7 separate regions of the Homo sapiens genome follow, and all the other regions are linked to region 1. Evidence: promoter capture Hi-C in 16 types of primary human blood cells and fetal thymus (Javierre and others, 2016). All regions are on one chromosome and are shown on one strand. Each heading gives the region's core, a stretch centred on a gene start or on the middle of the fragment in contact. The rest is flanking DNA. Distances are from core to core; before and after follow the strand shown.

Region 1 (3,339 bases), core at 1-2,500:
GCTTTAGAAACCCCAAATAACAAGGGATTCCAGAAGTCAGGTGCTTACAGTGCATCTGCAGTACTCATTTTTATGGTCAGTCAAGCTCCTCTGGGACCAGGTTCTTCTCCAAGAACCCCTGGGTACTGTACTCAAATGTCAGAAAATGCACTCGATTCCAAATTCTAGAAATTCTAAAAACAAAATTACATCATAAAACACATTTTTTAAAAGCCTGCACGTATTTAACCAACATGATTTACGCTGCACAAGGTACAGACGTCTTAATTAGACTGGCAAATTTAGAAGTCTCATTTTCATCTAAGCACCCACTATACTTTTTTTTAATGAACTGAGCATAGAAAATAATATATCTCCAGTGTACATCCTGTTTCCTAGTTTCACCAAGATGATTAAACTCCTATTTTCCTTTCCCGTGCTCTTATGGGAAATTAATGTATGCTAAATAAATGGGCAGAAAGGGTCACATACGGTTCTGGTTCAACACACAAACAACTCTAGATGTGCAGATATTTTTAAGTTGCACGCATAGGTTACTCTGGAGAACAGAGGCAATCCTGTATTTCCTATTCAAACCCCACGATTTTTTTTAAAGGACCTGGCTAGTTTGGAAAAGGGAACGGGCCCGCGTTTAAAGCGAGTGTAAATAAACAAACACGTGGTCTGCGGAGGAACACCTTTAAGCACCAGCAGGATGACTGAAAATAGCCAGGTTTGGGGAAGAGTGGCTGCCACCGCGAGACAACCCCCACCACATCTGGAGCTCCAGATTCCGTCGGGATTCCAAGCCTCAACACGCCCTCACCGCAGGGAACCTCGGAATCAGAACGCTGAGCCCGCCAGGACCCCTCCCCTGCCCACTCGGCCCGCTCTTCCCGAGGTTCCAGTTAACTCTGGGCTTCCGCCTGGGAACCTGCAGAAACAGGAGACGAATGCGATTCCTAAATTACCCCACTGCTGGACTCTTCGAAGCCCCACAATCGCGACCCAAGGCTGTCTTCTTTTCGGGAAGAAAGGGCAGGATCCGTGAAAAGAAAACAACACGGTCTGAACTTGCCTCTGAGAACCCGCAGGGCCGTAAACCTGAATTCCGCGGGAGAGAACGGCGTCCGTTTCTCTCGCGACACTTCATGGATAACGTAGATGCTTCAAGTCCAGTTCGGCTCTCATTGGCTACCGCACGCAGTGAGGGGGCGGGGAAAGTAGCGGCGAGGCCCCGCCCTCACGCAGGAGCCAATCCTGAGCAGGCTAGGAGACGAACCCGGAAGTGAGATGCAAGGCGGCGATTTTCCCTTCTGTCAGGTGGGTTGTTATTCCCTGTCCCGGACCTCGCTTTTTGATGGACCGGCGCCATCTAAGAACTCCTGAGCCCGTGGGGGTGGGTAGCCTGTGGACACAGGCCGAGCCCTGCAGGTCAGGCCGCTTCGTGGTCCCCAGGTAGGACCGAAGCCGCTTCTCCGCTCTTGGCTGTTTGGAAGGCCGCAGGCGGAGCTCACGGGCCTGTGAGCTCCCGGCTGGTGGCAGAGTGCCGGAGCTGGATCCCCTCTCCCTCCCTCCCAGTCGCCAGACCCTCTACAGGTGTCGCCCCTAGGTCCTTGAGTTCAGCACATCTGCACTGCTTTGTGCTGAGAGCAGTAAGATGTATAGTGCAGCGAAAAATAATGTAGAACTTTTGAATTAGAACGTCTGCCCTTTCAGTTCCATTGAAGGGTCCTTGATCTAGGGCAAGTTGTTTTAATCTATCTGAACCTCCTTCACCAGTAAGGTTTATAGCCCCGCCTATCACTGAGTTGTTTGTAAGGAGTTGACATAGTTCGGATCTCTCTCAAAATAGGATATGCCCTTTAAGTTAGGAAACATACCCTGACATTCCTGATGGAATATCAGGAATATCATCATCAAGTCATCAGTTTTGTTTCTTAACTGTAAGTCGGGTAGATGCGCCTAGGCTTGGCTTTTTAAACTAAATATACCAGTAAAATTTTGTACATAATTTTTTGTATCTGGATCTGTAAACTCAAAATTTATATAAAGGGAGTTTTTATTGAAAGGAAAAGCATGTTGGGGGAGAGGGTAAGATCTGTGGTATAAGGTTACTATATTTGATATAATTACAAGTGAACTTTTATTTATTAGCATCTGTTAAGTGTTTAATGAATTGATGTATGGTCATTTTTGTGTTGCAAGGTTCAGGAATTAGTTTGAGAATCAAAGAAAAAGTGGAAGCTCCAGGAGAATTAATAAAACACAGAGCAATTCTGATTGGATATCTCTGATTCCAAGGGTGTCTCTGATTGGGTGACTGAAAAGCCGGATTGGCCTTAGGAATACTTTAGTAAAATTCTTACATTTTACAATAAAGTAACAGGACCAGAAAAGTTACTGGACATGAGTAATACATTTAAACTTGAGTTTAGTGCTATTGCCACTAGTAATAAAGTTTAATACCACATTAAGATTGTATACTGTTAAACTTGTGAGATTAGGTATCAAGAAATCAGTATCTTGGGGTTATGCCTAACTCTGGAACTTCTCAGAATCCATTCCAGGCAAAATCAAGTGACAAGACTTTAATTAAATGTAATGCTACACATACTTCTTAATGCCTTCTATAGACAAGTAGGAGATAAATATAAGTTAAATGTGGTCCTTATCTTTCAGCTTATAATCTTTTAAGGGGCTAAAACAAGAACAAAGTTAGAGGTGAAATGTAGCACCAAAAAAAGTAGAAAGCAGAAAGCGATCTAAATGAGAGGATCAAGAAAGAATGAAAGAGATAACATCAGAGAAGAGCCTTGAAAGACTGATTATATTTCAACAAATAGAGTTGAGAGGCTGGGAATTCGTATTTGTAAATTATCTATTGGTTATTCTCCTTTTCTTTAATTGATTAAGGTTTATATGTTGTGTAACCCTTTAAGCTGATATTGGTTTAAAAATTAATATGGCAGCTTAGCAGAATAAACATCAGTTCCTTCAGGAAGCCTTCTTTAATCCCTTAGGACTAGGGGAATTATGAACCTCCTGTATACTCATGGTTTCTAGACAAGGTCTTGTAGTAGTACTTATCATGTTGTCTTTGCCAGACACATGATGTCTTTGCCAGTCACCTACACTAGAGTAAGCTTCCTGAGGTGAAGACATGGATCTTGCTCATTATTGAATCCCAGTACCCAGAAGTTGGCACATACCAGACATTCTATTCATATTAGTTGAATGAAGGAATGAATGACAGCCAAAATTCAGTTGAAAACAAGGACCCAACTAAGAACTATAGTTGCCTATCAATAAACAGGACTACTTTTTAAAGCAGTGAATTTTCCTAGGCCTGAAATTATC
Region 2 (3,329 bases), core at 272-2,771, 600 kb after region 1:
GCAGGTCTCTGTCTAGAAATTCACTGCCTTTTCTACTAAGTAAAGCTTCTCTTCTGCAGAGCTCATCCTAGCCTGAAAATCCTTCCTCTACCACGGCGTTGAGTAAATTCGATCTGCGGTTGTGTTGAATTAGAACAATGAAATAAAGATACAGATTTTTAGAAACGCAATGGGGTAGTTAAAAATGATAGGGAAACATTGACTACCTCCAACTGATGGAAAGATAAGCCAGTTTTTCCTGACTCCTCATATCTATATTATCATACCACTAGGAAATCGTGTCACCTCTCATGGTGTTCTGTCCCGTCTGGTAAAGGTGACCAAACACTTGAGAAGCCCTCAGAGTCTTCCGAACCTGCTGGCCTGCTCTTAATACCTCTCCTCAGTTGGCCTCCTCTCTAGAACACCCTGCCAGACTCCCCTTTGCCCTCTCACCAGCCTCCCACCCCTGCCCAGGCTGCTGGGGGAAGAACTGACCCAACGCTCTCCCTTTCCTGACGGCCACAGCTGCCCAGGACCACACCAGTGGACAGGAGGCTGGCTTTCAGGTGCTTTATTCAGAGCCTGTGGGTTGTAATCTCATTCAGATATTTCTAGCTCTGAGGTCTTGGCCAGGTCTCAAACAATCTGCACCTAGTTTTCTTATCTTCCTCACATCCTTCCACCTACCTCAACTGTTGATAACACTTGTCGAGATCAGGCATGTGAAAAAGACGTTGTCAGTTGCACACACAAGACACATTTAAATCCAAAATTAGTTTTCCACCAGCTGCACCCCTAGAGCTCACAGGGTGTTCCCCACCTCTCATCTTGCATTGTGATTGTGTGCCTGCGAAGAAAACAAATGAGCTAGTTCTTTCCCCTTGATCTCATGGACAGCTTGGGGAGACAGAACATACGTCTGAGGAAATCATGGGAATGGATGCTAAACAAATTTCAGTTAAATTCAGAACACATTTAGTGACTCCTGCTGTGTGCCAGATATTTGGGACCAAGAGATCTGAGTGCAGTTCTGGAACAAAGGCTACCTGATCTGCAGGTGGAGTTTGCTGGGTGGAGAGGTGGTGTAGTATCTGATTAGAGCCATGCTATGTGGGTTCATATCCTAGTTGCTCCACTGACTAGCTATGAACTTGGGCAGGTTAAATTGGAGATAATAGCATAGGGTGGTGTGAAGATTTAATGAGTTACCATATATAAAGTTCTCAGGTGTGTGACACATGAGTACTAAGTACTAGCTGTTGCTATGACCTAAGCAAAAAACCATAATTTAATAAAGGTGAACAAAGTCCTATTAGATTTAATCTGTCTTTGAGGTGATGGAAGCAAGCCTTAGGGTCAGGATGACATTTCTGCTGTGTGTGGAAAGATAAGGCAGAGTTTAGAAGGGAGGCAAGGAGGAGGACATTTCAAGCAGAGGGAACAAACATCATGAGTGAGAAAGGCATGGCAGATTCAGGGATTTGTGCGTGAAGAAGTTGGAACAGGTAAACTAATACAAATAGATGAATGCACTCAATTGCTCAGAATAAAAAGGAATCATGGAAGGGAGGGATCAGGTGGGGAGGAGCCACCAAGGAAGGCTTAGGGAGGCAGAGCCATTTATGCAGCTAGGGAAGGAGTGAGTCGTAAAGGAGCATAGTTTGACAGAAAGAAGTACAGGGAACCAGGTAACATGGAGACCCTGGGTGAGATAATGAGGAAGGGGACTGTGGAGATTAAAGAAGATGGGAAGGGAGGGTGGAAATAGTTACAAATGGCAGCTTGAGAGGTAAGATGTACAGCGGTTCTGAAGAGTACAAGGGGCCTGAGTTCCTGCTGTGCTGAGAGGTCAGAATGGTCACTGTGGCTGAGCACTGCAGGATGCTTTTCCCTGCAAGGTGGCTGGCCTCCCACATCCACCCGCTCGACCTCAAGTCAAGTCAGCCAGGATCCAGAGAGTATTGGGAGAGAGGGAGGGAGGAGGAGGTGTGAGGTGCAGCTGGGCCTGGAGTGCACTGCAGCAAACCTGCCCCCACTGTTGCCTGCTCCCTGAGGCCCTGCCTCCCAGCCAAGATCCCCACTGCAGAAAGATGCTCAGGGCTCAATGTGTACCCTTGGCGGCTTCCAAGCATTTTATAATGCTGAGTCTCCTTGTACCCACATCACCTTTTTATGAGGTCAGTGTTACCAAGAGGACCCGCACACAGGGGAGGAAGAGGCAGGAGACCAAAGGAACTCAGTGCTTGCCTCCAGTGATGAGTCAGGCAGGGCAGCAGTGACACTGAATTCCCAAAGCCCAGTTCGGCAGCTTTTGAGTCCACACTGCAGTTTCCCTTTGAAAAGAATCTCCTAAGTCAAAGATCACAGAAACTTAGTCACTCTTGTGCTGAAAATCTGTAAAGTGTTGCCTGCCCAGCCCCTACAGGACAAAGTTCACACTGCAGAATGCAGTTTACAGGCTCTCCATAGCCTAGCTCCTGTCTCCAGCTCCAATCTAGTTTCTCACCATGCTCCACCCTCATATTTTATGTTCTAGCATTATCCAGCTGCCTGGAGTTCCTCTCATAAACCAGACTGTTTGTGATGTCTGTTTCTTAGCTCATGCTGATTCCCTTTGCCCAAATTCCCTTTCTACACAGACCCCATCTTATCCTTCACTTCCTGCCCTTACTCCATCCTTTAAGACTCTGCTGAGGTGTCACCTCCTCCAGAAAGAATTCCCCACCTGAACTGTATCCACCTCCCAAGTTAGGTTCACCCCTTCAGTGCTCTTATAGTTTTTCTATTTTCATACTTACCATGTTGTTTTGTAATTATCTGCTTATGTATCTGTCTCCCCAACTTGAGCCCTTGAGGAATGATGATTGCATCTTACTCATTCTTTTCCTAGTGCCCAGCTTATAGAAAGCACGCGATAAGTGTTGAATAAAATAATTTGATGTTGGGAGGATCAATCAGGCAGGAGCAGGTGAGATGTTCTGCTTCAGTTTTCTCAGTGGGGCGCTTCCTGTTTCAGAAGCTTGCACCAGGGCTGGCCAGCAGCAACTGTTACAAACATGCTCCCTATGCAGAGCTGGAACCCTGCTCTGCAGCCACTCCATCAGTCTTAGCTTTGGCCTTTGAAACTATCCCAAATGATTTTGATCTCTGCTCTGCCTACAGGAGATGGTTTGGAGGAGTTCTAGTCAAGACTCCAGAAACCTGAGAACTGGATTCTGGTTTAGTGCAGGAAGCCTCAAACCTTTTAGTTTGTTGACTCCTTTCCACTTAATGGAAGAATTTTTAGATAAGATGCCAATGATACCTTTCTAAAGTGCATTGCTGATTTATGCCAGAAGCCAACATAT
Region 3 (3,334 bases), core at 400-2,899, 550 kb before region 1:
GCACCAGGGTTCAGCTTAGCTTTGTGTGAGTGTTCATCCATTGAAATTCACAGGTAGAAGGGCTTCTCTACTCCCAGGTCTGCCTGTGTTACCCCACTGTCCCAGTCACTGGCCCCCTTAGGGTGGCTCTCAGAGGCCCTGCCAGCTCCTGCTTCCTCCCTTTGCCCCTGCTGTTCCTTCTGCCTGGACAACCTCTCTTTCCCACGTATCCAGTTCAAGTCCCTGTTGTCCAAAGCCCTTCCCTTACTGCTCCAACCACATCACGGTACCCTCGAATTCCTTTCTCTGTACTGGTCTTTCTCTCTTCATCTAAGTGACCAGCAGTGAAATTCCACAGAAGAAACCTTTGACTTGGAGTCAAAAGTTCAGATTTGAGCCTTGTATCTGCCTCATATCAGACAGCCATCTCTGAGCCTCAATTTCCTCCTCAGTAAATTCTGACAACTATTTGCACTTGGAAGACATGACAAGGCCGTTTCAGGGTCAGGTATGATCATGTAGGAAATAAGCTTTGGAGATGATTCAGCGTATGCAAAGATCCCAGACATAATCATTATAGGATTTTTTATGCTTCATCTAGAACAGCGTGGCCCTTACTAAGAACATATAAATCCCAGTGATGCTGGTGGCAAGTGACAGAGTACATTTTAACTACAGTTGCAAAATGAAATCCTGCTCAGAACTGGCTTTGTTCCCTTTTGGGATTTCCACATTTGGGAAAGGGTGATCAAAGAGAGGAAGAGAAAAAGAAGGAAGCTGACGTTTTACAGAGCTGTGCATTCAGTTTGTGTAAGCTACTTTGGATAATCACATTTCCTGATTGCCTTTGTGGGTTTGGAACATTCAGTCATTTGTTCTTACGTTTAGTCATCCACTGAACATTTATTGAGAGTTTATTATGCCCTGGGCACTGTGGATACAGAGATGAATAAGGAGATGAATAAGGCACATGCCTGCAACCCAGCCAGGTTGAGGGAGCTGGCATGTGACCAACAAGATGGATGCAGCAATTAAGATATGTCTAGGGAACAGAAGGGGCACCTAGCTCAAACCAGGGACCAGCAATTATTCTCAGGGCATTGTTTGCATGGAAGGTAAGACGGCATACACTGGGCATATGACTGCATGTAGTAGGGTAAGAAAACATCCAATACAAAGGAATCCATTAGATGACATGGCTGTATTCCTGAACTCATGTTCTCAGCCACTCTACAGCCAAATATTAGCCTGTCAGGGGTCTGATGGCGTGGTGCGTTTCCATGACGTAATTTCTTTAGACCACTCTCAGCATACTGCCTTGGAGGAAGGGGCCAAATCAGTGTCCCTCACATAAAGGGCCCTGTGTTTCTCCACTGTGTTTTGCTCACTCTAGCCATCTGTGGGTAGGGCCACTGCTCAGACAGTGATACTCAGACACAGGAAGACTTGGTTGAGTCTCTCTCTATTTTTGAATGATTTCAGGTTTCCTAGACTTCTGCTTGAGTAGACTGGGAAACTCAAAGCCTTAGTCAAGGAAACCAATTTTTTTTCTTTTTCTTTTTTAATTAGCTTTTTATTTTAGAATTACAAAAATGTTGCAAAGATAGCACAGGGAGTTTCCATATACCCCTCACCCAGTTTTCCCTTACTGTGAGCATCAGACATTACCACTTGTCACAACTAAGAAATCAGCGTTGGAATATTTCTATTACCTGAATTCCACATTTTATTCACATTTCACCAGTTTTCCCACTAATGTTCTTTCCTGTTCCAGGATCCCATCCAGGATATCACATTATGCTTAATTGTCATGTCTCCTTAGGTTCCTTTAGGCTATGACAGTTTCCCAGCTTGTCCTTGTTTTTGATGACCTTGACAGTTTTGAGGAGTGCTGGTCAGATGTTTTGTAGAATGTCCCTCCATTGGGTTTGTCTGATGTTTTTCTCATAGCTAGACTGGGGTCATGGGTTTTGGGAGGAAGACCACAGAGGTGAAGCTAACATAGTTGTATTCCATTCACATCATTTCAGTGGTACATGCTATCAACATGGCATTGCTACGGATGTTAATCTTTATCACCTGGCCTAGGTGGACCTTTCTAGTTTTTGTCACTGTAAAATGACTTTCCTCCCACTTTCTATACTCTCATTCTTTAGAAGTGAGTCATTAGGTGCACTCCATACTCAAAGGGATGGGGGAATTAAATTCTATTTCCTAGGAATCTACATAAATTATTTGGAATTCTTCTGTGAGGAAGATTAGCCTTCCCATTTATTATTTATGTAATTATGTACTTATATCAGTATGCAGTTATAAATATTTATTTTATATTTATTTACACATAACATTGCTTTATCTGTTTTGTTGCTCAAATGGTTTCTGCTTTGGCCATGGGGAGATACTTTAGGTTGACCTCTGTTTCCTTTTGGCATGCCCCCACCCTTTTGGTTTTTGAGCACTTCCTTACTTTCAGACACAAGATGCTTCAAGCTCATCTTGTATTCTTCATCCCCATCTACAAAGATCTGTTTTTCACTCCCATGACATTTCTGACACCAACTGTGTGTTTTTTTCTTCCCTACTCTAACCAGTTCTCTAACACTAGCAAAGGTGCCCCACAATTCAGTTCGGTTCTGACACTATCTACTTGGAGTTAGAGTCAGATTCTGAAGTTCAAGGCTCAGTCCACAAGGCTTCCTCCACTTCAAACACCAATTGCAAGTCCAGGCCTCCTGTACTTCTGACTAACCTGCTATAAATTGGGGGTTCCCACCACTCTGTCCTCTGAGCCACCTTCACGGCTTGTCTCATTAAGCTTCTGAGGGCCTCCTGAGGAATCCAGCTGAATAGTGTTCAGCTTTTTGGTTATTATTTGCCACTTAGCAGTTTTTAAGATCAGAGATATGATCTAGTGCCACCACAGGAGATTTGCTTTGGGAAAGAGTCTATGAGATGTAGCTGTGGCTGGTGAAAAAGCACTGGCCAAGTCTAGAACTATATAAAAAGGGTTATGTACCATAACCAAATGGAACTTATCCCTGGACAGACCTCCGGGAAAACAGTTTACTCACTATTGTCAGTTTATTATAAAGGCTACAACTCAGGAAGAGCAGCATAGATGCAGAAGGCAAGGCATGAAGATGGGGGTGCGAGGCTTCCATGCACTCCCCAAGCTGCACCTTGATGTGTTCACCAGCCCAGGAGCTCTCTGAACCCAGTTGAAAAAACTGTTTTTTTTCAACCCAGGTTTTTTCTGCAGTCTCTATTTTGTAGGCATGATCTATTACATCATTGGTCACTGGTGATTAATCAATCTCCAGCCCTGGAGGTCAGAGGGTGTGGCTGAAAATTTCAA
Region 4 (3,693 bases), core at 130-2,629, 680 kb before region 1:
CAATATATAGCCTCCGTGTATTGATTTATGACTTTGCCTGTAACCTCTGCCTCTCCACCTTTGTGGGTTTTTTGGGGTTTTCTTGTTTTTGTTTTTTGAGACAGGGTCTTGCTCTGTTACCCAAGCTAGAGTGCAGTAGTGCAATCAGCTGCTCATTGCATCCTCAACCTCCTGGGTTCAAGTAATCCTCCTGCCTCAGCCTCTTGAGTAGCTGGGACTACAAGTATACACCAACACATCTGTCTGATTTTTAAAAATGTTTTATAGAGTCAGGGTCTCACTATGTTGGCCAGACTCATCTCAAACCAGCTCAAGGGATACTCTCACCTTGGCCTCCCAAAGTGCTAGGATTACAGGTGTGAACCATTGTACCCAGGCTTGCCTCCCCACCTTTAAAACCTTTACCTGTAAGCCATTGAGGAGTTGGAGTTCTTGCTTGGTGCCCTACAATAAATGCCTCACTTCCTCTTGCTGCAGTCCCAACGTCAGTGCTTGGCTTTGCTGTGCCAGATGAGCAGACCCCAGTTTGGTTTGATAATGTGTACTTTATAAAACCAAATCTAACACTAAAACTTCAGATTTATTTTACATTATCAATACCCTTTCTTCCACCAATACTCAATCTCTGATAAATTTTATGTAAAACCCACCAAAATCGTGGAACATGGAATTCCCTAAAAGACTAAGAGATTCACAGGAGGTAGAGTTGAATGCATTACTTAACAGGAGGAAACCATCTTGGTTGAAGGAACTAGCCTGATACATAGAAAGTTTGCCTAAGATGATTTTTGTATATATCATTTGAAATAAAAAGTAATTTTTCAGTGAACAATTACAGTGTATTCAAAAAAAAAAACCCAGCCGGCGCAGTGGCTCATGCCCATAATCCCAGCACTTTGGGAGGCTGAGGTAGGCCGATAACCTGAGGTCAGGAGTTCGAGACTGGCCTGACCAACATGGTGAAACTCTGTCTTTACTAAAATACAAAAATTAGCCAGGCATGGTGGTGCACACCTGTAATCCCAGCTACTTGGGAGGCTGAGGTAGGAGAATCGCTTGAACCTGGGAGGCGGAGGTTGCAGTGAGCTGAGATGGCACCACTGCACTCCAGCCTGAGTGACAAGAGCAAAATTCTTTAAAAAAAAAAAAAAAAATAGTGTATTCATACTATAGACTGCATTGTGCAGGCAAGAAGAATGAAGTTTTGGAATAGGTAGACATGAAATAATTCCCGACACATTAAGGAAAGACTGGTGAGTTGTAGGGTAATATATATGATAGAATCCCATTTGACTAGAAAGAAAATAGGATAAATATGTATATTTGGCATATATATACACAGATATGTTCATATATGCATAAGCAAGTCTAGAAGGATACACACCAAATTCGACTATTGTTTCCTCTGGATTGAGGGAAGGAGAGAGATCTTTTACTTTATTTAGTTTTTGTTAATTAACTCTAGCCAAAGATACTTTAATATATATAGACTTTAGTGCTATCTGAATTTTAAAGAAGGATTTATCACCTCTGTAATTAAGCCAAACCAAAAATACCCACTTAATTTTTAAAGGGCAGTGGAAATGTTCTCAAGAATTGGAAAAGCTGACAGCCAGGTTGGGTGGATTCAGGGGTGCAGAGAGATGCAAGCTCTGGCAACTCACACCATTAGTGGATATTGAGTTGGGGATAGATGTGCTAACAGTGATCACAAGGATTTGCTCTGCTTTTAGTAAACTATGGATGTGTCTGATGCTTCCCTGGAAACTGGGCAGAAGAAACCTATGCTGGATATGTAAAAGCTGATGCCGGTGAGATGGTTTCCACTTCCCCCAGTATCCTCCCCAGTGTTGTCAAGGAGGCAGCACGTGAATCACGTCCCTGGGGATTCACCCTGTCATATTTGGCTCCTTGTTCCTGGTTACATCTCCAGCATTCTGTTCTGCCATCTCTTCTCAATCCCTTGTTAACACTTACCCAGCTCTTCAGAATTGTAGGGTTTGTCTCTGCATTCTTGCCTGGGGCAAGATATCCTGATAACCTCTCTCACTGCCTTAGCTTCTCACCTTTGTGAGGTATTGCTTCAAATCAGAGTATGCATGAAGTGCTCTCAGGTATTTACCATCTTATGTGGCCTTCAGAGGACATGAGCTCTCCTTGCATACACGGAACACCATGAAATGAGAAAGTACAGTATATACCTTTTGGGGTTCTAAGATCATAACCTCTGAAAGGACATTCTGTTGACAAAGCATGTGTGTTCTGTAGGGTATCTTATCCACTGCTGAACAAGTGGTACAATTATCACATCCTACTTTTGGCCCATTCCAGAAGCAGGAAGAATGCTATTGAATTACAGTTAATATTCTGAAAGCATAAATTTCAAATTGGTCTTCTGGCTACAATTGGGGGAGAATGGTGGTGCTGATAAGGTGTAGTTTTTCTGAATTGCTAAATAATGTTTACTGTTAGAACCAGTGTAATTAGTTGCGTTGTCACTTAAAATATGTGCCAGACCTGACTGTGATTAAGGGTTTTGTTTATGCTCAGCCTGACAGGACACAGCACCCAGAGCCTCTGATTTCTTGGCAGGAGCAGACACACACACAAAGGACCAGGGCTTTATTTTCAGGTTTTATTTCATTCATTCTTTAAAACTTTTTTTTTTCACAGTTTGAAATATAATTTATAGCTTAACATTTACACTAGCTAATCTCTAAGATTTTTATTTTTCTGAAAAGCAAAAACCTCAGGCTCTGCATTTTAAACCTTTCCACAGGAATGTTCAGTATGGCAGAGCTTTAAAAATTCAAAAGAAACCCTTTTTTCAAAGAAATGGAAAGCCAAGGAAAGAAGCTTTTTTTAAAAAAAACATTGTAACTTCCCACACTACTGATGTGAATAAACTGTCATGAGATTTGGGCGGGGGGGCAATTTAATTGACATCTGCCATGGAGGCCTCTTAGTGGGTGTTCTTTTCCAACTCCCCTTTGATTATGAAGATTGCCAGCCCTGACTTCGGGACAAGCGGAAGAGCAGAGTTCTGAAAGGCAGGTAGTGTGGAAGAGGACATGCTGGCCCCAGCAGCTACCCAACTCCCACTGCTTTCCTGCTGGTGGCCTCTCTGTGTGAAAGACAAGAAAGAAATCAGCAGATTATCCTTGAGCCCCTTGGATACTGCTCACCTCGTTTCTTCACAGCACTGGAAACTGTCCTGGCCCAGAGCCTGGTTCCTCCGACTGCTGCGTGGGGATAGGACATAGTGTGTGAGTTTACCCGTGTGTCTACAGGAGGCGCCTTGAGGGTATCTTCTACCTGTCAGGTGCTAGAGCTACACATCCGTTGTGTAGACCAACTGCTGTCGCCTTTTGAATCAAGCAGTGCCTTGGGAGTCCTGCTCTGGATACTGAGAGTTCCTGTCTGAATATTCTGAGAGATCCCTTCCCAAAACTCTGGATTCAATATTGAGGGAAAGGGCTGTAACTTATCCAAGCAACTCCTCTGCCACATAGGAAATAGAGAAGATATGGACATTGGAGGCCTGAAAGGAGGAAGAAGAGAAAGGAATGTTCTAAGACTTCTTAACCTTTGCATGGGTGAATTTGCAACTGAGGACTAGGAACACATCATCATCGGATGGTACCTTTGGTCTGTAGCTATGAATATTGGAGAGATAAGAGAATGGAAAATAAA
Region 5 (3,397 bases), core at 93-2,592, 690 kb before region 1:
GGAAGCAGCAAAGCTTTAAAACTTTTACTTCTTCCTGGTGTACAAAAAGCTTAGTGAAGAAAAAAAGACCCTGTCTGGGCATGGTGGCTCACCCCTGTAGTCCCTACACTTTAGGAGGCCAAGATGGGAAGCTTGCTTGAGCCCAGGAGTTTGAGACCAGCCTGGGCAACATAGTGAGACCTTGTCTCTACAAGAAATTTTTTTTTTTTTTTTTTTTTGAGACGAAGTCTCACTGTGTCACCCAGGCTGGAGTGCAGTGGTGCAGCTCACTGCAAGCTCTGCCTCTCGGGTTCAAGCGATCATCCCGCCTCAGCCTCCCAAGTATTTGGGATTACAAGTGTGCGCCACCATGCCTGGCTCATTTTTGTATTTTTAGTAGAGTTGGGGTTTCACCATGTTGGCCAGGCTGGTCCCGAACTCCTGACCTCAAGTGATCCACCCACCTTGGCCTCCCAAAGTGCTGGGATTACAGGCGTGGGCCACCGTGCCTGGCCAGGAAGCCTTTTTAAAAAAAGTAGCTGGGCTTGGTGTGGTGGCTCATGCCTGTAAACTCAGCACTCAGGGAGGCTGGGCAGATCCCTCAAGTCCAGGAGTTTGAGACCTGCCTGGGCAACATGGCCCATCTCTACAAAAAAATAAAAAAAATTAGCCAGATGTGGTGGTGTGCACCTGTAGTCCCAGCTACTTGGGAGGCTGAGGCTGGAGGATTGCATGAGCCTGGGATGTTGAGGCTGCAGTGAGCTGTGATCACACCCCGCTACACTCCAGTTGGGATGACAGAGTGAAACCATGTCTTAAAAAAGACAAAAAGACTGATGTGTATGATAACATGCACAGTGAGATCTCTTGACATGCTAATATATTTTTATGTGTATGTGTCAGAGTGTGTGTGTGTGTCTTTAAAGAAAAATCGGAGTTTATAAAATTTTATATCCTTCTGAGTTCATACCTCAGGGGTGACACCAAAACAAACAAATTTTTTACCTTGCATTCATTTAATATTGTATTGTAAATTTTTTCATCTATTTTAATAGCTGTATAATATCCTATAATGTAAATACTTCATGATTTCTTTTCCCAATTTTCCATTGCTAGATAATTTTATTTCCAGTTTAATGGTTCTCGTAATGCTCACACACATACTTACCTTCTATAGGAATTATGAAGCACTGTCAGGGAAACACATCAAGGAAAAAGGAAAATAAATTTCAGAATGTATTGTAAGAAGCCGGTACTGCAGCAGCAGACCAAACCCTAAGTCTATTAATGTAAAAGCCCCTTGTCCCCACTGGCTCTTCTCATTTCTTCCCATTGTCTTTTAAAATTAAATTTATTTTTATTATTATTTTTTTAATTTTGAGGTGAGGCGTGGCATGGTGGCTCATGCCTGTAATCCTAGCACTTTGAGAGGCCAAGGAGGGCAGATCACTTGAGGTCAGGAGTTCTACACCAGCCTGGCCAACATGGCGAAACCTCGTTTCTACTAAAAATAGAAAAATTAGCCAGGCGTGGTGGCACACGCCTGTAGTCCCAGCTACTCGGGAGGCTGAGGCAGGAGAATCACTTGAACCTGGAAGGTGGAGGTTGCAGTGAGCTGAGATTGCACCACTGCACTCCATCCTGGGTGATAGAGTGAGACTTTGTCTCAAAAAAAAAAAAAAAAAAAATTTGAGACAGCATCTTACTCTGGCTTAGACTGGAGTGCAGTGCAGTGGTGGAGTCATAGCTCACTGTAACCTGGAACTGCTGGGTTCAAGTGATCTTCCTGCCTTAGTCTTTTGAGTAGCAGGGACTACTCGTGCACGCCACTGTGCCCAGCTTATTTTTTTTTTATTTATAGAGACTGGTTGTCGATATGTTGCTCAGGTTTGTTTTGAACTCCTGGTATCAAGCGATCGTCCCTCCTTGTCCTCCCAAAGTGTTTTGATTACAGGTGTGAGCCACTTCCAGGCCTTTCTTTCTCTTTCCAGTAAAGTGCTAAAAATCAGATAATTAGAAACTGAGGGTTTGGTTAATTTAAATGATTTATGCTTTGGTTCTAAGTGTTGGCTGTTGATTAGTGTGTATAAGATTACTGGCTTTGGAATTGGATTCCCAGGTTTTTGGCTCTGGATTTAGACTCCCAGGTTTTGTATCCCAGTTTATAGCTATGTGACCTTGGGCAAATTGCTTAACATTGCTAAAGTTTTTTCTGTTTAAAAAATGGAAATAATAGTGCCTACCTAATAAGGTTAAGATTAAATGATATGTTAGTAAGATTAAATGATATAATTCATGAAAGCTCTTGTTATAATGCATGCTGTATAATGAACACTTGATAAATCTTATTTCTCATTGGTATTGATAGTTTTCTTTTTTTGGAGTATAAGGATTTGATTGTGCAAAAAATCTCTAGCTTCTCTTGAATATGATTATAATTTCATTACAGTAATGGGTCTAGATGTGGGTGTGTCCCAAGTCATTTGTTACCAGGGATCAAGTACTGACATTTATGAATGATTTATATTAGGTTTATACCGTAGAATATCGAATATCCTTCTCACTCATTTCCTGATAAGCTTTTCTGAGTGGAAGAAAATGAATAGAGTTAAAGGGAATAAACCCATCATGAATCATGATAATCAGGGGTGTGTGATGAGAGTGTATTGTAATGTCAAGCTGAGAACCTACACATTCAAGCAGTATGAAAGGGTTCTTAGAGCTACCTCTGCCTTTATTTAAAGTCTGCCTACACATAGTGGTAGTTTAAAAAAGTAGTTAGTTTTAAAATTTTCATAAAATTTTCGAATCATTTATATTCCTATCATTTTGTATGGTGACTTAAAAAGTTTTTTAACTTCTTGTATTTAAAAGAGCTGCTGCAACCATTGACAGCTTAGCAAGCCGAATTGAGGATCCTCAGATACAGGCTCATTGGTCAAATATCAATGATGTTTATGAATCTAGTGTGAAAGTTTTAATCACATCACAAGGCTATGAACAAATATGCAAGTAAGTGGCCAAAATAAAAGTTTTGTATTTAATATGTTAATTTGCTATTGATGTTTGCTGAGTAATTATATTAAGCATTTGGTTTTTATTTGCTAGGGTGGCATAATATTTCTGTAAATTATATAAGCTGTAGAGTGTTTTTTTTTTTAATAGGTGGAGTCTCACTCTTTTACCCAGGTTGGAGTGCAGTGATGATCATATCTGACTACAGCCTTGAGCTCCGGGGTTCAAGGAATTCTTTTGCCTCAACCTCCTGAGTAGCTGGGACTATAGGCATGTGCCCCCATGCCCAGCTAATTAAAAAAATTTTTTTTAAGAAACATGTCTATGTTGCCCATGCTGGTCTTGAACTCCTGGACTCCAGCAATCCTGCTGTCTTGGCCTCCCAAAGTGCTGGGATTACAGG
Region 6 (3,492 bases), core at 393-2,892, 610 kb before region 1:
TTGCAACTTTCCTTTGGACTTGAGTGAGTCAGATAGTGTTGGTAAAACCCAATGGGAAAAAGATTAAAAGAACCACAAAATCAGAAACATACAACAACAACAAAACTGTTAAGGAAAACAAACAATCACAAAACTTATATGATTACTGAGTACTCTTATGGTAAGGAGAAATTAAAACCAGCTGGTTGTTAACTTTAGCCAAGACAAAACCCCAATTCAGCTACTTACTTAGGGATGGGTCTCAGGCTGAAGACTGCTCTCCACCATCCTAGAAGCAGGAAAAAAAACCTATCTTCCCTTTTGGAAGCCAGCTCAAACTGCATAAAGGAGTTACCTGCCTTCCCTCATCATTGAAGCAGGAAAACTTGCCTTCCTTGTTGGAAGCAAATAAAACTCCCAAAAAAGGGAGTTGTATAGCAAAACAAACTTTAGATCTTGACCAAATTTTGGGAGATCAGGTCCTTTCTGGAGGGGGTGCTCCCAGACCTCAGCAAATTGTGCTATTGGTTTGACCATAAAGTTAGCTCATGCTGGTACTAAGCACTGATAAGAGATTTGTCAAAAGTCAGGGGCATCTCCACTCAGAATCCCTCTGTGGTTACTGGAATGTGAGCCCTGAAAATCTGAGACAGGTCTCAGTTTATTTTTCCAAGGTTGAGGATGCACACCTGTGACACAGCCTCAAGAGGTCCTGATGACATGTGTCCAAGGTGGTCAGAGCACAGCTTGGTTTTATACATTTTAGGGAGACATGAGACATCAATCAACATATGTGAAATGAACGTAGGTTCAGTCCAGAAAAGATGGAACAGCTTGAAGCAAAAGCAGGACAACTCAAAGTGGGAGGGGCTTCCAGGTCATAGGTATTACAGGTGTGATACAAATGACACAAATGGCTACATTCTTTTGAGTTTCTGATTAGCCTCTCCAAAGGAGGCAGTAAGATACACATTTATCTCAGTGAGCAGAAGGGTGACTTTGAATAGAATGGGAGGCAGGTTTGCCCTAAGCAGTTCCCAGCTTGACTTTTCCCTTTAGTGATTTGGGGGCCTGAAGATTTATTTTTCTTTCACAGAACATTTCCATCAACCCCAAAAGTTTACTCTGTGCAGTCTATTCTTTCCTCTGCCCTCAGCCCTAGGCAACCACTGAATTGTTTTATGTTAAGAGATTCATTTGCATTTTCTGGAATGTTATTGTCAGGCCTCTGAGCCCAAGCTAAGCCATCATATCCCCTGTGATCTGCACATATACATCCAGATGGCCTGAAGCAACTGAAAATCCACAAAAGAAGTGAAAATAGCCTTAACTGATGACATTCCATGATTGTGATTTGTTCCTGCCCCACCCTAACTGATACGATATATTCTCCCCCACGCTTAAGAAGGTACTTTGTAGTATTCTTCCTTGCCCTTAAGAAGGTACTTTGTAATATTCCCCCCCACACTCAAGAAGGTACTTTGTAATATTCTCCCCACGCTTGAGAATGTCCTTTGTATGCCTATCCCAAACCTATAAGAACTAATGATTATCCCACCACCCTTTGCTGACTCCTTTTTCGGACGCAGCCCACCTGCACCCAGGTGAAATAAACAGCCTTGTTGCTCACACAAAGCCTGTTGGTTGTCTCTTCACATGGATGCACGTGACAGTATATACATAGAATCACACAGCATTTAGTTTTTGTGTCTGGTTTTCTCCTGCCATCATGATTTTGAGATTCATCCACTATGTTGTGTGTATCAATATTGTATTCCTTGCTATTCCATTTTATGGATATAGTAGAGTCAGTGTATTCATTCATCTTTAATGAACATTTGTGTTAATTTTAGTTTTTGCTTATTGACATCAGTCTGTTTTATCATCTTCACTGCATTATTACTATCTGAAATTACTTTATTCATCTATTTGTTTATTTACTATCTGAAATTACTTTATTCATCTATTTGTTTATATTTGACTTTCTTTTTTTCCCCAACTAAGCCAACAGGATCTCATTTTCTTGTTCTTCACTTTATCTGCAGTGCCTGTGCATGATAGGAGCTCATGTGTGAACTAATTCCGGGAATTTCATTCCTGGGCTATACTTGAAGCATTCCTGAATTCATATACTAGCTATGGCATTATCGGCTTTGTGACCCTGAGCAAATTGCTTCACCTCGCTGAACTATGGTTACTTAATCTTTAAATTGAGTATTATCATACTAATCTCACCAGGTTGTTGTGAAGATAAAGGTGAATTTCTGACACTAGAAAGCCAATGCTGTCCTATCTGCCTTACCTGTAATGACTCATTTAGTCCTTTAATCAGTTAATCAACCCCATGAATAAAGTACTGTGATTTATTTTTCTTTCTTTCTTTTTTTTTTTTTTTTGAGACTGAGTCACGCTCTGTTGCCCAGGCTGGAGTGCAGTGGCATGATCTTGGCTCACTGCAACCTCTGTCTCCTGGGCCATGCAATTCTCCTGCCTCAGTCTCCTGAGTAGTTGAGATTACAGACATGGGCCACTGCACCCAGCTAGTTTTTGTATTTTTAATAGAGATGGGGTTTCACCATATTGCCAGGCTGGTCTTGAACTCCTGACCACAAGTGGTCCACCTGCCTCTGCCTCCCAAAATGCTGGGATTACACGCATGAGCCACCACACCTGGCCTTTTAATTTTTTAAGACAGGATTTCACTGTGTTGCCCCAGCTGGAGTGCAGTGGCATGACCTCAGCCCGCTGCAACCTCTGCCTGCTGGACTCGAGATTCTTGCGCCTCAGCCTCCCAGGTAGCTGGGATTACAGGCACATCCCACCACACCTGGCTAATTTTTGTATTTTCAGTTGAGATAGGGTTTTGCCATGTTGGCCAGGCTGGTCTCGAACTCCTAGTCTTAAGTGATCTGCCCACGTCAGCCTCCCAAAGTGCTGGGATTATAGGCATGAGCCACTGTGCCTGGCCAAAAAAGTGCCATTATTTTCATTCTATCTATTTTATAAATTGCAAAGCTGAGGCACAGAGTTAGTAAGTGGCAGAGCTTCACTTGAGCCCAGGCTGTTTAGCTTATAAAACTCTTCTCCCCATCATTCTGTTATTCTGCTTCTCTATGCTATTAAATGAGATAGTATATGAAGTGCGTAGCACAGTATCCAACACATGCTACCTTCACAATAAATATTGTTTTTTTTCTTAGGTACAAAGTCATAGAGTGAGATGCCAAACATCTCACCATTTACCTACACTTTTGGGATCATATATGAAAGGTTGTAGCAAGTAAAATTCAGTAGAATTTTGTAGATTGTGTGATATAGTATTATTTTCATCATCTTGACATTTTAATTTCTTGGGTTTGAGACATGATTATAAGCATGGGGAAGTGTGGTATGTTTGTCAAATAAATCAGTTTGACTTTATTTTTTTTGGTAAATTGGTTGTGAACAGTTGTTCATACTCATGTCCCAGAAAGGGTCTCCCAAGCCCATTATTGGGTCTGGCCTGAGAGTGAG
Region 7 (3,322 bases), core at 345-2,844, 650 kb before region 1:
CTATTTTTTGAGCACCTGCTGTATGCCTCCAATTCTCTTCTCCACCCTGTCCTGCTGTACACACTTACTCATCTTTCAAGAGTCAACCTCACCTGCTCCATGAAGTGTTTTCTGACTCGCCAGGCAGGATGCCTCCCATGACTGGCAGAAGCAACACACATTCTCTTTGGAATAACTCAACTTCAATCCAGGCTGACAAAAATTGTATTAAAGCCTTTTTGTGGGTTTGTTTTAGAGACAGGGTCTCACTGTGTTGCCCAGGCTGGTCTCAAACTCCTGAGCTCAAGTGATCAAGTGATCCTCCCACCTCGGCCTCCCGCGTAGCTGGGACTGCAGGTGTGTGCCACTGTGCCCAGCTTCAAAGCTATTGATTTATAACATGAATTCTGACTTTAGATATAGTAAGTTTTTTTTTGTTTTTTCCCAAAGAGTCTTACATCAGATAAGGGATATAGCTGTCCTTAGGTCCTGGGGATAATGGAGAGGAGAGTCTCCTGGCCCTTGCCCCGCTCCTAGACCAGCAGGGAGCATACTCAGGAAGGCTCTTGGAGATCAGGAAGTAAGACATTTGTGTGACTTTCCAGTTGACTCCAGCCCGCACCCCCAACAGCTTCAATTTTGTCTTTCAGGCATTTTCTGAGATGGGGAGGAAGTGTGTGTGCAGGGGTGCCCATCAGCCAGGGAGCTGGCACCTCTTCCATACGATGTGCGCATCACTAGCACTGCACACATCACCCTGTATGAGGAGTTTCTCTCCCCTGAGTGAGGGCTAAAAGCTGAAAGCTTAATTGTCCATCAGTGGGGTCTGGCTAAGTAAAAAGCAGCATATTTATATGATGACATATGTAGAGAAGTTGAAAGGAATGCACTTCCTTTATCAACATGGATAGAGCTAAAAAAAATTGGTGTAAAACTAAGTTGCTGAATAAACAGTACAGAATGAATGCATTTTTAAAAAATTTTTTTTAATTTTTTTTTTTTTTTTTTTGAGATGGAGTCTCACTCTGTCACCAGGCTGGAGGGCAGTGGCATGATCTCGGCTCACTGCAACCTCTGCCTCCCGGGTTCAAGCGATTCTCCTGCCTCAGCCTCCCAAGTAGCTGAGACTACAGGCGCCTGCCACCACGCCCGGCTAATTTTTGTATTTTTAGTAGAGACGGGGTTTCACTGTGTTGGCCAGGATGGTCTCGATCTCTTGACCTTGTGATCCGCCCGGCTCGGCCTCCCAAAGTGCTGGGATTACAGGCATGAGCCACCATACCTGGCCCCATGATTGCATTTTTTAAAAGTACATTGGAAACTCACTTTTTTTCCAGTGGGTACATTTGTATGTATGCAAAAATATTTTTTATAAATCTGAAAGGACAGTGCAGAGTGAGACCACACCTCATGTGTCTCTGTTTGATCAGGGATCAGTGCACGGCCCACGGCAACATAGTAGGTGCTTCTAAGATGTTTGCCACATGGATGGCAGCGTTGGGCAGCTGCTGAGGACTTATGGAGTGATGGACCCAGAGTCTCGTGAAGGGCCTTGAGAGGATTCCTTCTATACTGGCTCCCTCCTCATCCCATCCGCCCCCACCTTCCACTAAGCCCAGAACCCACAGCTCCATTCTGGCTGTGGCATCCCTGGGTCTGTCCACTCCCTCCTCAGCTTCAGATTCAGCCCTAGCCCTGTTCCTCTATTTTTCTGAGGACTGGCCCCAGTGTGTATATGTGTGTGTGTTGGGGGAGCTGACTGTTACTTAGAAACTGGGATTGGAAAAAAGCAAGTTGATTCTGGCCCAGGCCATTAACTAAACTATCCTACTATAGTCTTGGATCAAGTACTTCCGAATGAGAGGGAGCACTGGGTGGGTACTCGTGAGCCTGATGGCTAATGTACTGGGAAAGGACATGAACAAATGTTCTAGAAAGGTGCCTGGTCTGGTGGGGAGGCCTGCCAGCTTTCCGAGCCCATAAGTCCTTGTCCTAGTCAGCTTGGGCTGCTGTAACAGATGACCATAGACTGATGTGGCTTAAACCACAGTTATTTCTCACAGTTCTGGAGAGGCTGGGAAGCTCAAGATCAAGGTGCCAGTTTTTGGTGAGGGCCTTCTTCCTGGCTTGCTAATATGCATTTTCTTGCTGTGTCCTCACACAGCTGGGAGGGAGAGCTCTGGTCTCTCTTCCTCTTCTTATAAGGACACTAATCCCATTATGGGATCCCACCTCAAGACCTCATCTAAACCAAATCACCTCCCTAAATCCCCTCCTCCAAATACCATCACATTGGAGGTTAGGGCTTGAATATATGAATCTTGGGAGGACCCATACATTTGTAGGGGAAAGGTTTCAAAAGCAGGGTGTTTGGCATGCTTTAACTCAGACTTCAGGGTAAATAGTGAATATCAGAGGTTCTGGATGAAGCTTTTGACACAGGCAGAAGAGGTAGAGCATGCAGGGAACTGGTAGGAAGGAGGAGGCCTACTCTTCATCATTATGACTGGCTCCAAAGCACAGGCTTCATTCAGGCAGGCACACATTCATTTAACGTCTTTTAAGGGCGCAGGCCCTGGCTAGCACTGGGCAAGTGCTAGGGACCCTGAGTTGAAACAGAGTGCTTGCCCTCCTGGAGCTTACTGCTGTCCATGAGACAGGTCTCAATGGAAAACTGCAAACTTTTACCTGGCCTCCAGGTTTTGCATGTGCCATTTTGTCTGGTACACCCTGCATTCCCTTTGTCCTGTCCCCCGAGCTGCTCCTACCCATCTGGCAGGTATGGGCAGGTGGGGCTGTTTTGGGGAAGTTTCCTCAAGTCTGGATTCTGAGACGCTAGGGCTTCTAGAACATGGCACCTCTTGCCTCTCAAGGCTTGCCATTGCAAGGCTGCCCCTCTTGTTTGCATGTCTGTCTTCTCCATGACACCTGAGCTTCCTGAGAACGAAACAGTGAACCACCATATCCTAGGTACCCACTGTGGCCTGCTTCCTGCAGGGAGAGGGTACAGTCAATGAGTGAGTGAATGAATGAATTATACGCTATTGCAAATGGCTGGTCCCTGAGCATGAGGGGTATCTGAACAGATGTGTAAGTATGGTGATTAGAAACAAGTGATAAAGGTTTGAGAAATAATATAAAAAGCCACTGCAATGACAAACACACCCATCCACCTGCTCGAGACTAACAACCAACTGTTTTCTTGATCCATAGCTGCCAGAGGAACATGCCTCTGTCTTACTGGGTTTCTGAGATTTGCAACCTCTGCAGCTGGGTTCTAGCCAGAGAGGTGTAAAGGTCAAAAATGTTAGATCGTTCAGTCACCTTGTATAAGTTAACATAA

Evidence for each region. The method cuts DNA at HindIII sites, captures the fragments that hold promoters and counts their contacts. A CHiCAGO score of 5 or more calls a contact.
Region 2: a fragment that was not itself captured here is called in contact with the fragment with the promoter of ANKRD49 in region 1 in 1 of 17 cell types (total CD8 T cells); the score reaches 5.3 in total CD8 T cells.
Region 3: a fragment that was not itself captured here is called in contact with the fragment with the promoter of ANKRD49 in region 1 in 1 of 17 cell types (endothelial precursors); the score reaches 5.7 in endothelial precursors.
Region 4: a contact is called between a fragment that was not itself captured here and the fragment with the promoter of ANKRD49 in region 1, in 14 of 17 cell types (M1 macrophages, naive CD4 T cells, M0 macrophages and 11 more). The highest score is 12.8, in M1 macrophages.
Region 5: a contact is called between a fragment that was not itself captured here and the fragment with the promoter of ANKRD49 in region 1, in 13 of 17 cell types (activated CD4 T cells, naive CD4 T cells, total CD4 T cells and 10 more). The highest score is 9.1, in activated CD4 T cells.
Region 6: a contact is called between a fragment that was not itself captured here and the fragment with the promoter of ANKRD49 in region 1, in 1 of 17 cell types (endothelial precursors). The highest score is 5.0, in endothelial precursors.
Region 7: a contact is called between a fragment that was not itself captured here and the fragment with the promoter of ANKRD49 in region 1, in 2 of 17 cell types (erythroblasts and endothelial precursors). The highest score is 7.4, in erythroblasts.

Annotation. Positions count from the first base shown.
Region 1 is chr11:94,492,734-94,496,072 of GRCh38, forward strand. ANKRD49 (ankyrin repeat domain 49) reads left to right here and starts at 1,251. Exons shown (of 3, transcript NM_017704.3): 1 at 1,251-1,302. It overlaps MRE11 (MRE11 double strand break repair nuclease), which reads right to left and starts at 1,111. Exons shown (of 20, transcript NM_005591.4): 1 at 1,058-1,111; 2 at 49-173. The coding sequence starts at 68. RefSeq lists an enhancer at 1,461-1,550. The HindIII fragment of the contact is 5,313 bases long and covers 1-3,123 here.
Region 2 is chr11:95,090,751-95,094,079 of GRCh38, forward strand. All of the region lies in intron 1 of ENDOD1 (endonuclease domain containing 1), which reads left to right. Among named protein-coding and RNA genes, the nearest start is that of ENDOD1, 2.6 kb to the left of the region's middle. RefSeq lists an enhancer at 2,175-2,469 and a silencer at 2,175-2,469. The HindIII fragment of the contact is 2,956 bases long and covers 44-2,999 here.
Region 3 is chr11:93,938,746-93,942,079 of GRCh38, forward strand. It overlaps the pseudogene LOC101060084. Among named protein-coding and RNA genes, the nearest start is that of HEPHL1, 81 kb to the right of the region's middle. The HindIII fragment of the contact is 2,285 bases long and covers 508-2,792 here.
Region 4 is chr11:93,815,611-93,819,303 of GRCh38, forward strand. It overlaps VSTM5 (V-set and transmembrane domain containing 5), which reads right to left. Exons shown (of 4, transcript NM_001144871.2): 4 at 2,622-3,693. Among named protein-coding and RNA genes, the nearest start is that of VSTM5, 33 kb to the right of the region's middle. The HindIII fragment of the contact is 2,949 bases long and covers 1-2,854 here.
Region 5 is chr11:93,798,982-93,802,378 of GRCh38, forward strand. MED17 (mediator complex subunit 17) reads left to right here. Exons shown (of 12, transcript NM_004268.5): 9 at 2,854-2,991. Among named protein-coding and RNA genes, the nearest start is that of MED17, 16 kb to the left of the region's middle. The HindIII fragment of the contact is 2,427 bases long and covers 130-2,556 here.
Region 6 is chr11:93,878,164-93,881,655 of GRCh38, forward strand. It overlaps the pseudogene LOC101060084. Among named protein-coding and RNA genes, the nearest start is that of VSTM5, 29 kb to the left of the region's middle. The HindIII fragment of the contact is 8,409 bases long and covers 1-3,492 here.
Region 7 is chr11:93,845,798-93,849,119 of GRCh38, forward strand. The region is part of intron 1 of VSTM5 (V-set and transmembrane domain containing 5); the gene reads right to left. Among named protein-coding and RNA genes, the nearest start is that of VSTM5, 3.2 kb to the right of the region's middle. The HindIII fragment of the contact is 1,626 bases long and covers 782-2,407 here.